Regions from separate parts of the Homo sapiens genome. Here all the other regions are linked to region 2. Evidence: promoter capture Hi-C in human tissues and cell types (Jung and others, 2019). All regions are on one chromosome and are shown on one strand. Each heading gives the region's core, a stretch centred on a gene start or on the middle of the fragment in contact. The rest is flanking DNA. Distances are from core to core; before and after follow the strand shown.

Region 1 (3,667 bases), core at 993-3,492, 1.1 Mb before region 2:
TACCCTGAAGAAAATATGTGCTAAATATCTCAGAAGCCCCACAAGGGCAGGGCAGTGAGTGTGCAGGAGGGAGGTGGGGTGGGGCGCCTGGGACAGAGCAGGAGGGAGGTGGGAGGTGGGGTGGGGGGCCTGGGACAGTACAGGAGGGAGGAAGGAGGAGGGAGGTGGGGTGGGGGGCCCGGGACAGAGCAGGAGGGAGGTGGGGTGGGGGGCCTGGGACAGAGGGCCTCCTCTGAAGTTGAACTAATGCCACTGCTCTGCCCTCAAATGGTTTCAGGCCAGAGTCTTCTCTGTTCAGGACTCCATCCCTGTAAGAAAACTGAGGAGCTGGATTGAGAGAGGAGGGAGGGTGTGGAACGTGAATTCTGAGCTATCAAAAGGGGCTGTACTTCGCCTAAGGCCATGGATGCTGTGTGCGCTGTGGGGCACACACCACACTCCTGTTGTCCAGCTGCCTATTTTATGTTCCATGCGCAGGGAGCACTGAGGCCCTTCCTGGAGCCTCCCACACCCACACAACACACTGTAGCCTCCTCTGTCAGTTCAGGGAGGGCAGCTCCGCCTTACACTGCTAGAGCTAAGGTCAGCACAGGGGGATGCCTGCTGAAACAGCATGTGAGGTCAAAAGCCTAGTGGGTTTCCATGTGACGGAAAGTCTGGGCATTGAGGAGGGGTGGAGGTGACCAGGAATTAAGGGGTTACCAGATGCTGGGAACAGAAATGGGTGTTTGACATGCAGAGTTTTCCAGATCACTGGAGATCAAAATACTCGTCCTTGTTCTAGAATTTTTAGTCTCTGGTGTGTGACCTTGGGTAAGTCACATTTCCACTCTAGGACACTTCTGCCTCATTTGAAAAATGAGAGGTTTGGACTAAAGAGCCTCTAAAGTCTCTTCCATCTTAAGAGTCAATGGTGAGCTGTCATTTGGGTGATGCACACTCTTCGTAGCATCCCCTGTCACTAAAGACAGTAGCCTGGCAGGTCATTACTGCTGAAGAGAGCTTCAGGGCTCTGGGTGCAGGGCTGCCAAATGCCACCTCGCAGCACAATCACGGAATCTCCAGGAATGCTTCTGTAAATGCTGATTGCTGGGCCAGCATAACTCTACTAAATCATCATCTTCTGTGGTAGGACTGGCAAGTCTGTATTTCCAATGACTTCTCTGCTGAGTACAATGTCCCCAGTTTTCCAAGCACCAAAGTGAGGCCAGCACCAAACTCCTGACTTTAATTAGCCACAACTAGGTTAGCAGAAAATTATCAGAGCATTCAAGGCAAATGCTATTCTACAATGAGCTTCTACCTGGAGATCTGTGAGGACCAGCAGAGCCACGAGGATGCATCATTCTCAGGAAGCTCAGCCACCGTGCTGGGGAAGGAGCCATCCTAGTGGATAGGGCCTGTGGACACCCCATGCTGTTTCAGTTGTGTGGGTTGGGGAGACTCCAGGAAGGGCCTCAGCACTTCCTGGGTGTGGAAGGTATAATAGGTGGCTGGACAATAGGAGTGTGGTGTGTCTACCCCATAGCACACCCAGCGTCCATGGCCTTAGAGGAAGCAGAACCTCTTTGATAGCTTAGAATTCACATCCCACACTCTCCTTCCTCTCCACTCTCCAGCTCTTTAGTTTTCTTACAGGGATGGAGTCCTCATCAGAGAAGACCATGGCCTGAAATCATTTGAGGGGTGGGTCAGTTGCATTAATTTAACTTCAGAGGAGTCCCTCTGCCCCAGGCTCTGCACCCCACCCACCACCCACCTTCCTCCCAGAAACTCACTGCCCTGCCCTTGTGCGGCCTTCTGAGACCATTTAGTGTATATTTCACTCAAGGAAGGCCTCACTGACAATCCAGGCCCAGGTCACCATCCTTCTCTGTCGGCCCAGCCTCTCAGGGACTGGCCTGGGATGGACCCTGGCAGATGCAGCCTGCCTTCTGGAGGAACCCACCTGGCGAGCCAGTGTCCTGCTTCTTCCCCCTATTCACTCACCTGAGCCACACACCTGCATATGCCACCCTTTATCTCAGGATGTTCTTAAGGCAATACATTCATCTAACATGGCTGAAGTATCCTCACATGACCCCTTCCCATCTACCTGTGAGGGAAGCCACTTACTCATCCAGAGCCCTGGACTTGCCGTTCCTTCTGCCTGAAGTCTGCTTTTGCTGGGACTCCATCTGGCTGCCTCATTTTCCTCATTACCCTGTGAGATGAAATGTCATTTCCTCAGAGATTTCTCCTGGATCATTTCCCCAGTCACCACCTTCGTTTATCTATTACACCTAGCACTATATGAAATGCACACACACATACACACACACATGCATGCACATATCTTGTAGTTGCCGTTGTTATCCACCCACCAATCCCCAAATGGTGAACTCCATGGGGCAGTAACTTTGCCCGTCATAGTCAATCCTGTTTCCCTAGAACCTAGAAACAGGTACACTCCAAGTCCTCAACGAATACTTATTATGTAAAGTTTGATGCTAGAATAATTCCATGAATTAAAATATCCCAGTATCCTATTCTGGAAAGTAAAAAAATTGGACTCATTGTCCTCTGGGATCTCTTTGAGCTTATATAGGCCTGAAGAAACTATTATTTTTTCAAAAAAGAGCAGTGGGAATAAGGGCCTCGTGTAGGCCAGGGACACAAGCGCCTATCACTGAAGCTTTGAAGTCTAGTGGGGAAGACCTCCTATGAACAATGGGCATCCAGACCTGTGATGAGTGAATGGTTCTACAGGAGGATGGACATTACTCTGTGGTGACGTGGATGGAAAATTCTCAGGGGTGTCAGGGAAGGCTTCACACAAGAGAGACAGTTGAGCTCATCTTCAGGGGTGAGTTGGAATTCACCTGATGGAGAATGAAGTTTGGCATTTCAGGCAAGAGAAAGAAAAGGTCGTAGGCATATGCATTTGGAGGCACACGACTCCTCTAAGAAACAAGGACGGACACACAAGGGTGAGAGCCACGCAGGGTGGAAAGCCTGGATGAAGGAACAGATGTGCCCAGGGCTGAGTTTGGAAAGCTCTGTGTTCTGGTAGGCTGCTGAGAACCACAGAGCCAACAGAAGTCCAGTACACAGATTTCATTACAGTCACAATAAGCTTTGTTTCATTTTTAATCAGAGGAATAGTTCTAGTTTAGAAAGACTGGAATGGCAGCTGTGTAAAGGATGAAGAATAGAGACGCATGACCAAAGGTAGGGAAGTACCTAAAAGTGACTGCAGTCCTTCAGCTGAGAAACAATGAATGGCCCCACTCGGCAGATTTTGAGAATAGTCAATGAGACAGATTTAAGAAAAATATATCACCAAAATTTGACAGAACATGATTAACATATTAGTCAGGGTTCTCCAGAAACAGTACCAATAGAGGAGGGAGAGGCAGAGGGAAAGGTTGAGGATTATAGAGACTGAAAAGTCTCACAGTCTTCCATCTGCAATCTGGAGACTCAGGAGACCAGTGGTAGCCCTGTGAACCAGAATAACCAGTGGTACAAGTTCCAGTTCCAGTTCCAAGGCCGGAGAACAGGATCGCTGATAGTGAACTTCTGGCCTGAGGGCAGGGGAAGACCAATGTCCCTACTCGGGCCATCTGACAGAGAAAATGTGTTCTCCTTCCTCCACCACTTTGTTCTTTCTGTTGAGGCCATCAGC
Region 2 (3,812 bases), core at 717-3,216:
CATTGTCAATGTGGCGCACAAAGGCGTCTGCTATCACTAGGTGCTTGTTGTTGAGTAGGTAGATGGTGATGGTCTCCCAGGCACTGGACATGCTCACCAGCATGTCCGCCACTGCCAGGCTGCACACGAAGAAGTACATGGGGGAGTGCAGGTTTTTGTTCTTCACTATGGCCCCTATGACCAAGATGTTCTCCAAGAGGCTGATGACACCCAGAGTGAGAAACACCTCCACAGCAATGCCCATGTCTTCACATGGTGAAGACTTGTTTTTGACATTGGGTCCTGAAAGGTTGCCCTCTGTGGCATTCAGGTTGAGATCCAAGAAATGCAGGTGAAATGAGGAATTCATTGCTGGAGAAATACACCTCTTGTCTTGGCAGCAAATTTACTGTAAAACATGTTTTAAATTCACAATCCAAAGAGGTTAGCAGCCTACCAAAGAAAGACAGCAGCTAGCCTAGAACCAACACAGCCTAAGAAAGGGGATGAATGACACAGTGCATCAGAGGACTGGGCTCGGCTCACTCAGTCCTTTTTTTTTTTTTTTTTTAAGAGACAGGGTCTCCCTATGTTGCCCAGTCTGGTCTCAAACTCCTGGCCACAAGCGATCTTCTCTCTCAGCCTCCCAAAGTGCTGGTACTACAGGGGTGAGCCACGTGCCCGGCAGCTGGCTTGCACATTCTGACCTGCGTTCCTGAGACCTGGAAGAGTGCCCCTGGACACGCAGATTAGAATCTTCACCAGCCTCTTCTGCTCTCCTTGCTTTCAGCTCCCAGCCTTTCACATGCATCTTACTAGAGAGACACTCACCTCCAAGTGCCCAGGACAGTTTCACTTTTTATGGCTTCTCTCCTGGGCTCAAGTTCACTATCATAAGTGTCCCCAACTCATAACCTACAAAATCCCAGCCAGTCTCCCAATGTTCACATTCCTAAGGCTACTGCACGACATTCTCCTCAAGGGAGCTCCGATTTAAGACTGCCCAGACCCGTATTCCCTTAAGACAGACAGACAGGTGCATCCCTAACACTTGTCCTGACACTTCTTAGACCCATCAGGATTCAGCCTCCACAGCTGTAAGTAAGGCTATAACCAGAATGGTCTGTTACCCTGAGCAAAGTCACATGTTAAAAGCTACTGTCTTAAGTTTGTAAGTGTAGGCTGCACATACGTGTTAAAATTGAGGAAAACAGTGCTGCTTTTCCCTCAATACCTATTTTTCCCTCGCTTCTGCATTATGTGGAATTCCATGAGGTCTGCTTGATAGTTTATTAGGTCCGCGTGAGCACAGTATTTAAAAAAAAAAACAGCAATTTAAATGTACCACACTCCTTTGTTGCAAAATTTCTCTCTTATGATTCATTTTCAAAAATCCCTTTGCCCTCCAAACTCAGATCACATCTGGAGAGAATTTCTGTCATCACTGTCATCATTAATATTTGTAATCACTTTGGGAGGGAGGGAGGGGGTGAGGGACAACAAATTACTTAATAGGTACAATGTACACTATAGGGGTGATGGCTACACTAAAAGCCCAGTCTCCACCACTATGCAATACATCCATATAACAAAACAGCACCTGTACCCCCTAAATCTATAAAAATAAAAAAGGAAAAAATTGGTAATCTAAGCATTTATTGAACTACAATCATTTGTTACAGCTGAGTTCCAGCTCAGATATATCGGTAAATTATGCAATTATACTAAACATCATATCGAGCTGTGTTAAAAACTCACGGGGCAAGCTAGCTGCCGCCCCGCTCACTTCCACATGCAGCGGAAGCGCGATTTTGCATTTATTCTCAGGATCTCAAGGAGATAGAAAGTTGTGGCTATTTACCGGTGCTCCTCCTCGCGGGCCGCGGCGCTCAGCCCGGGCCCCCGGCGTCCCCGGGATCCGACGGCCGTGCGGCGCTCAGAGCCAGCCCCGGACGGGCCTCTCCCCCAGCTAGGCGGCTGCGGCTCTGCGGGGCTTTAAGCCTCCTGCCTGCCCGCGCCGGGCCCGCCTCCGCACCGCCGGCTGTCGCTCCGGGCGGCCTCCGCTGCCACCTAGTGGCCCAGCACGGCACAGCGGCCAGAGAACCGCGTCAGCCCCGAGCGAAAATCCCCCCGAACACACTCTTGAATGGTTGGATGGTTGCTTGGTTGGTTGGTTGGTCGGTCGGGTCGGTGGGTCGGTCGGTCGGTCGGTCGGTCGGTTGAATGGTTGGTTGGGTGAGTGGTTGCTTGGTTGGGTAGTTGGTTGGTTGAGTGGGTGGGTGGGTGGTTGCTTGTTTGGTGATTGGTTGGTTGGGTGAGCAGGTGGTTGCTTGCTTGGTTGGTTGGGTGGTTACGGGTTAGTTAGTTGGGTAGGTGGGTGGTTGCCTGATTGGTTGATTGGTTGATTGGTTAGGTGAGTGGATGGTTACTTGGTTGCTTGGCTGGTTGGGTGGGGGGTTCGTTGATTGGGTAGGTGGGTGGTTCCTTGGTTGGTTGATTGGTTGGTTGGGTAGGTGGGTGGTTGCTTGGTTGGTTGATTGGTTGGTTGGGTAGGTGGGTGGTTGCTTGGTTGAGTGAGTAGATGGTTACTTGGTTGCTTGCTCGCTTGCTCGCTTGCTTGGGTGGGTGGGGGGTAGTTGGTTGGGTAGGTGGGTGGTTGCTTGGTTCGTTGATTGGTTGCTTGGGTGGGTGGGTGGTTGGTTGGGTGAGTGGATGGTTGCTTGGTTGGTTGATTGGGTAAGTGGGGGTTGGTTGGGTAGGTGGGTGGTTGCTTGGTTGGTTGGTTGGGTCAGTGGGTGGGTGGGTGGTGGGTGGTTGCTTGGTTGGTTGGTTGGGTCAGTGGGTGGGTGGGTGGGTCGTTGGGTGGGTGGTTGCTTGGTTGGTTGGTTGGGTCAGTGGGTGGGTGGATGGGTGGTTGGGAGGGTGGTTGGTTGGTTGGTTGGTTGGCTGGGTCAGTGGGTGGATGGATGGGTGGTTGGGTGAGTGGTTGCTAGGTTGGTTGGGTCAGTGGGTGGGTGGATGGGTGGTTGGGTGGGTGGTTGCTTGGTTTGGTTGGTTGGGTCAGTGGGTTGGGTGGATGGGTGGTTGTGTGGGTGGTTGGTTGGTTGGTTGGTTGGGTCGGTGGGTGGATGGATAGGTGGTTGGGTGGGGGAGTGGTTGGTTGGGTCAGTGGGTGGGTGGATGGGTGGTTGGGTGGGTAGCTGCTTGGTTGTTTTTCTGGCTGGTTGCACTTTTTGTTTCTTTTCTCTTCCTCTTGAGCACTGATTAAAATGCTCCCGAGCTCAAAGAGGGCTTGTCACCCCGTTTCTCCTGGACAGTGGTCTCTGGGATGTCCTGATGATTGTTCTTTGGGAAGGAGGCCCAGTGCCTGGGAGCCCTCATCTGTGGCCCTACCACGCCCCTCTTTGCCCAAGGCTCTCACCCCTCCTCCAGGACTACACATGCCATGCCAGGCTTTATCAACCACACAGGCTTTCCTTACTCCAGCAAAAAAGAACAAAGGATGTCCTCTCACCAAATATCCTGGCCTTTCGCAATAGTTTCTGGACCCCACTCCTTCTCTGACACCTAAAACTGACCTTCAACCCCCAAAAGAATCATTATACTCACAATAAGCAGAAGTGCCACTGCCCTGCAAGCCAGGGCAGGATGCACGGGGCCATATCACTACCAGAGCTTTCCTTGGGCTTTGCAGATGATCACAACCTTCCAGTATTTCAAGTGTGGGGACCACAGTCTGGCTGGCCTCACGCCACTGGAGTCCCAAGCCGTGCTGGGAGCCACAGGGTGGAATTCTAGAAGGAGGTTCTGAATGTTGAGAATACATATTGGGA
Region 3 (3,508 bases), core at 227-2,726, 1.1 Mb before region 2:
ATCAATGCATCATTTTTCAACTCTGTCACTTCCACATAACACAGCCACCATTTGCTGTTCTCAACTTTTCCTTTTTGTATTTGTTTGACACTAACTTTTCCCACAGTCTGTAGATTTTTTTTGTCCTTTTCTAATAGTTCGTGTTTTAGAAATTCAGAACAAACAATTTCTGAATGCTCCTCAGAACGCCAACTCAGGCAGAGAATCTCACCGAAATAGAGAAGAAGCTCATGCTCCTGGAAGAAACAGCCCGAGGAGAGCCGCTGGGCCACATCTGGCCACTGTCCGCAGCGCTGTCAGATTGCTGGGGCCACATCTGGCCACTGTCCACAGTGCTGTCAGATCCAAGGAGAGCCGCTGGGCCACATCTGGCCACTGTCCACAGCGCTGTCAGATGCCGACCAAACCCTGCTTTGGTGTTGAGGTGGTTCGTCTGGTAGCCTCCTTTCTTAAGGGTATTTAATCTGCTGCAAATTGTTTTCATGTATGCAATAGATGTTACTGTAACTGTTTTATAAGGTGCATTGTCTTCACCTTGGCAGGCTCTGTGCCAGTCTGTGTCTAGTCTGATGCCATTCCTGCACACATACATCCATGCCCCAGCATTTGGAGGGCTGGAGTTAGGAATAATCCTGTTGGTGACTTATTATTAACTATTGTATGGGACTTATTATGTATCTTCATGTTCTACTGTTCCCACCTCCCAAACCCCAAAAAAGGATGAGATCTGTCTTATAACAAAAACATTTACGATAAGGCCAATACTATAAAATAAGTAATAAAGTTAATACCAACAAAAAGAGAAGTATTAATTACTGCTGCAGTTAGGGTTGACATTATTCCTATGATTGAGCTTTGAAGACATTTCTAAGCAGTAATAAACATGAACCAAACGTCGCACAGTTCCATTCATGGTCCTGATCTGAGAGAACGCATTCCTAGATGGACACCCACTCCCTCTCCCAACTGCCCAACTCATCAGTAAATGGAGTTTGATTTAAGCCAAACCTAATGCAGTACTTCCCTGTACTTGAGGTTTTCCTTCTGTGATTTCAATTACCTCTGGTCAACGAGATTCAAAAATATTAAATAGAAAATTCTAGAGATAAACAATTTACAAGTTCTAAACTGCATGCCTTTCTGGTAGCATGATAAAATCTCATGCTGTCCTGCTCTGTCCCACGTGGAACATGAATCATTCCTTGTCCAGCATATTTACTCTTCATAGCAGCAGTCTAGGTTATCAGATTGACAGCGCCCAAGAAGAAAGGTGAGTTAAGTACAATAATATATTTGTAAAGAAAGACCATGTTTATGTAAGTTTTATTATAAAATATTATCATAATTGTTCTATTTTATTATTAGTTGTTATGGTTTATCTCTTTCTGTACTTAATTTATAAATTAAAATTTATCATAGGTATGAATATATAAGAAAAAACAAAATATATATATAGGGTTTGGTACTATCCACAATTTCAGCTATTCACTGGAGTCTAGGAAGATATTTTTCATGGATAAGGAGGGGGTTGGGGTATAGGAAAATAAAATTAAATATGCAAAAATGTCTAATCATATGACTAAAGAAAGTATACACATGACATTGGAAAAGATAAAAGGATCAGTAGTCATTATAGCAGCTTCAAATTTAGAATGCATATTTACAATTGGTAATACATTTATAGCAATTTATTCATGATGGGTGGTAAGAAGAGAGTAAACAATCTTTCATTGGTAAATCTTTTTGAGATATCTCATTGCTGAATACTTTACATGCTATCTCATTGAATGTTTATGAGGATCTCAAGAAGTAGTCATATTCCTAATAGAGAAAAAAATACTTGAGTTTTTTTTTTTTTTTTTTTTTTTTTTTTTGCTATTTCAGTGTTCCCTTTTCCTTTGCCAGTCCTCCAATAGCTGTTCAATGAATCTACATATTAAGTTTAAGGCTGACTCCATCTCCCGAATCACAGTGGTCATTCTGCCTCTTGGACTGACTCCATTCTTCATTTATTGAGTCCCTGTGGATATAGAGCCTCAGCTCTTGTCATCCCCTAAGGAAAGTGTTGGTCTGAGAAGTGAAACCAAGCTGGCACAGCACTGTAGGCCTGGGAGGGAAAGTGACACATGCCTGCATCCCAAGGAGTGGGGATGGTGAAATCATGAGGGACTCAATGAGGCTATCATTTGGGGTGCCACTGGAACATTGATTAGTGATGAAAGAGGAGAGACCATTGTCCTCCTGAGAGAATAAATCTGGTCCTCTTGGTGTCTCCTTTCCAAGATCACCTCGTTCTTCCTGTCTTACCGACTTCTCAGCTTGAGTAAATAAACCCTCCAGTGAATGGGGCCATGGGAAATTTTAGTCTATCTATCTCTACATCACTGAACATGTTGGACTTCACTGATCTTAAGCACAAACATCATTTTTCCTCTTATCAATGATCTTTTAGCATTTTAAGCAACTTTTATATAACAATACTTTTGTTTTAATATTTTTTCTGGTATCTTGTCTCAGTATCTTCCCATGTAGAACAACTCTATATATCACAGAACTGCTAAAAGCAATTAAATATGGCATATTGAGTTTTTAAATTACATTCTCTTCATTAAAATAACCAGAGTGAAATTTTATTAGTAAAAATAATGAAGTAAGAGCCTCTGAAAATCTCCCCCTCCATAAAAGCAACAGAAATCTGAAAAGAATTGTCAGATTCAGTGTCAACTTTTTCAAAACATAGGCAATTAACCAAAGGCTTAAAGAATGTTAGAAGCATGTATTAAAAAAAGGCTAGATCTCCACAAGAACTCAATATTTGTGTTTTAACTTGCCATAGGTGCACCCACCCTTCCACAGTGAAGTCATAGTCTTGAAAAATAACAGCATTTCTATCACAGAAAGGAGCAGAATGGAGTTAGATCCTAATTCCCAAAGAATTGCAATTATTTGAACTGTCTGGTGGTTCCCTAGAAAACTGGGCTGGAAAGGATTTTCTTTATGTAACCTTACTTAGATCTTATGCGCTGTTAAAAACATCTACAAAAAGAGTGGTTGAGAGGGAATTTGAAAAAAAAAATTATAGGCAAGTGTTGTAAATGTTGTGTTTGCCAGATATGGTGGATAACAGTTGGATCAAATAACATATATTAACCAGAAAGCTTAAAAGAGCCTGCTGAAAAGCAAGATGTTCACAGAGATTTTAAAAATATCAGACATATTCATGGAAATATAGACATCTATAAATATATGTAGAGCTATGCACATGCTCAGGAAAGTATCTGTGAAAGCCCTAAGCTCTCACTTTTGGCTGAGTTTCAGGCTCTGTTCAAGCAGAAAGTGAAGGCTAAGATAGATTTTTAAACCATTGAAGACATGCCTTAACACACATGCAGAATTCCCTCAGCAAAGACTGGAATATTTATTGGTCTTAGGTGTTTAAAGAAATACCTGGCCAGGTGTGGCGGCTCATGCCTGTAATCCCAGCACTTCGGGAGGCTGAGATGAGTGG

Evidence for each region. The method cuts DNA at HindIII sites, captures the fragments that hold promoters and counts their contacts. A contact is called where the count stands out against the background at its distance.
Region 1: a fragment that was not itself captured here is called in contact with the fragment with the promoter of MC5R in region 2 in 1 of the 25 tissues and cell types used here (lymphoblastoid cells).
Region 3: a fragment that was not itself captured here is called in contact with the fragment with the promoter of MC5R in region 2 in 1 of the 25 tissues and cell types used here (bladder).

What each region holds. Positions count from the first base shown.
Region 1 is chr18:14,928,447-14,932,113 of GRCh38, reverse strand. It overlaps a transcript of ANKRD30B not described here. Among named protein-coding and RNA genes, the nearest start is that of LINC01443, 16 kb to the left of the region's middle. The HindIII fragment of the contact is 4,206 bases long and covers 140-3,667 here.
Region 2 is chr18:13,822,303-13,826,114 of GRCh38, reverse strand. MC5R (melanocortin 5 receptor) reads right to left here and starts at 1,966. Exons shown (of 2, transcript NM_005913.3): 1 at 1,841-1,966; 2 at 1-388. The coding sequence starts at 349. RefSeq lists silencers at 1,762-1,851, 1,862-2,151, 2,117-2,297. The HindIII fragment of the contact is 21,381 bases long and covers 1-3,812 here.
Region 3 is chr18:14,956,591-14,960,098 of GRCh38, reverse strand. The region is part of intron 1 of LINC01443 (long intergenic non-protein coding RNA 1443); the gene reads right to left. Among named protein-coding and RNA genes, the nearest start is that of LINC01443, 12 kb to the right of the region's middle. The HindIII fragment of the contact is 4,662 bases long and covers 1-3,508 here.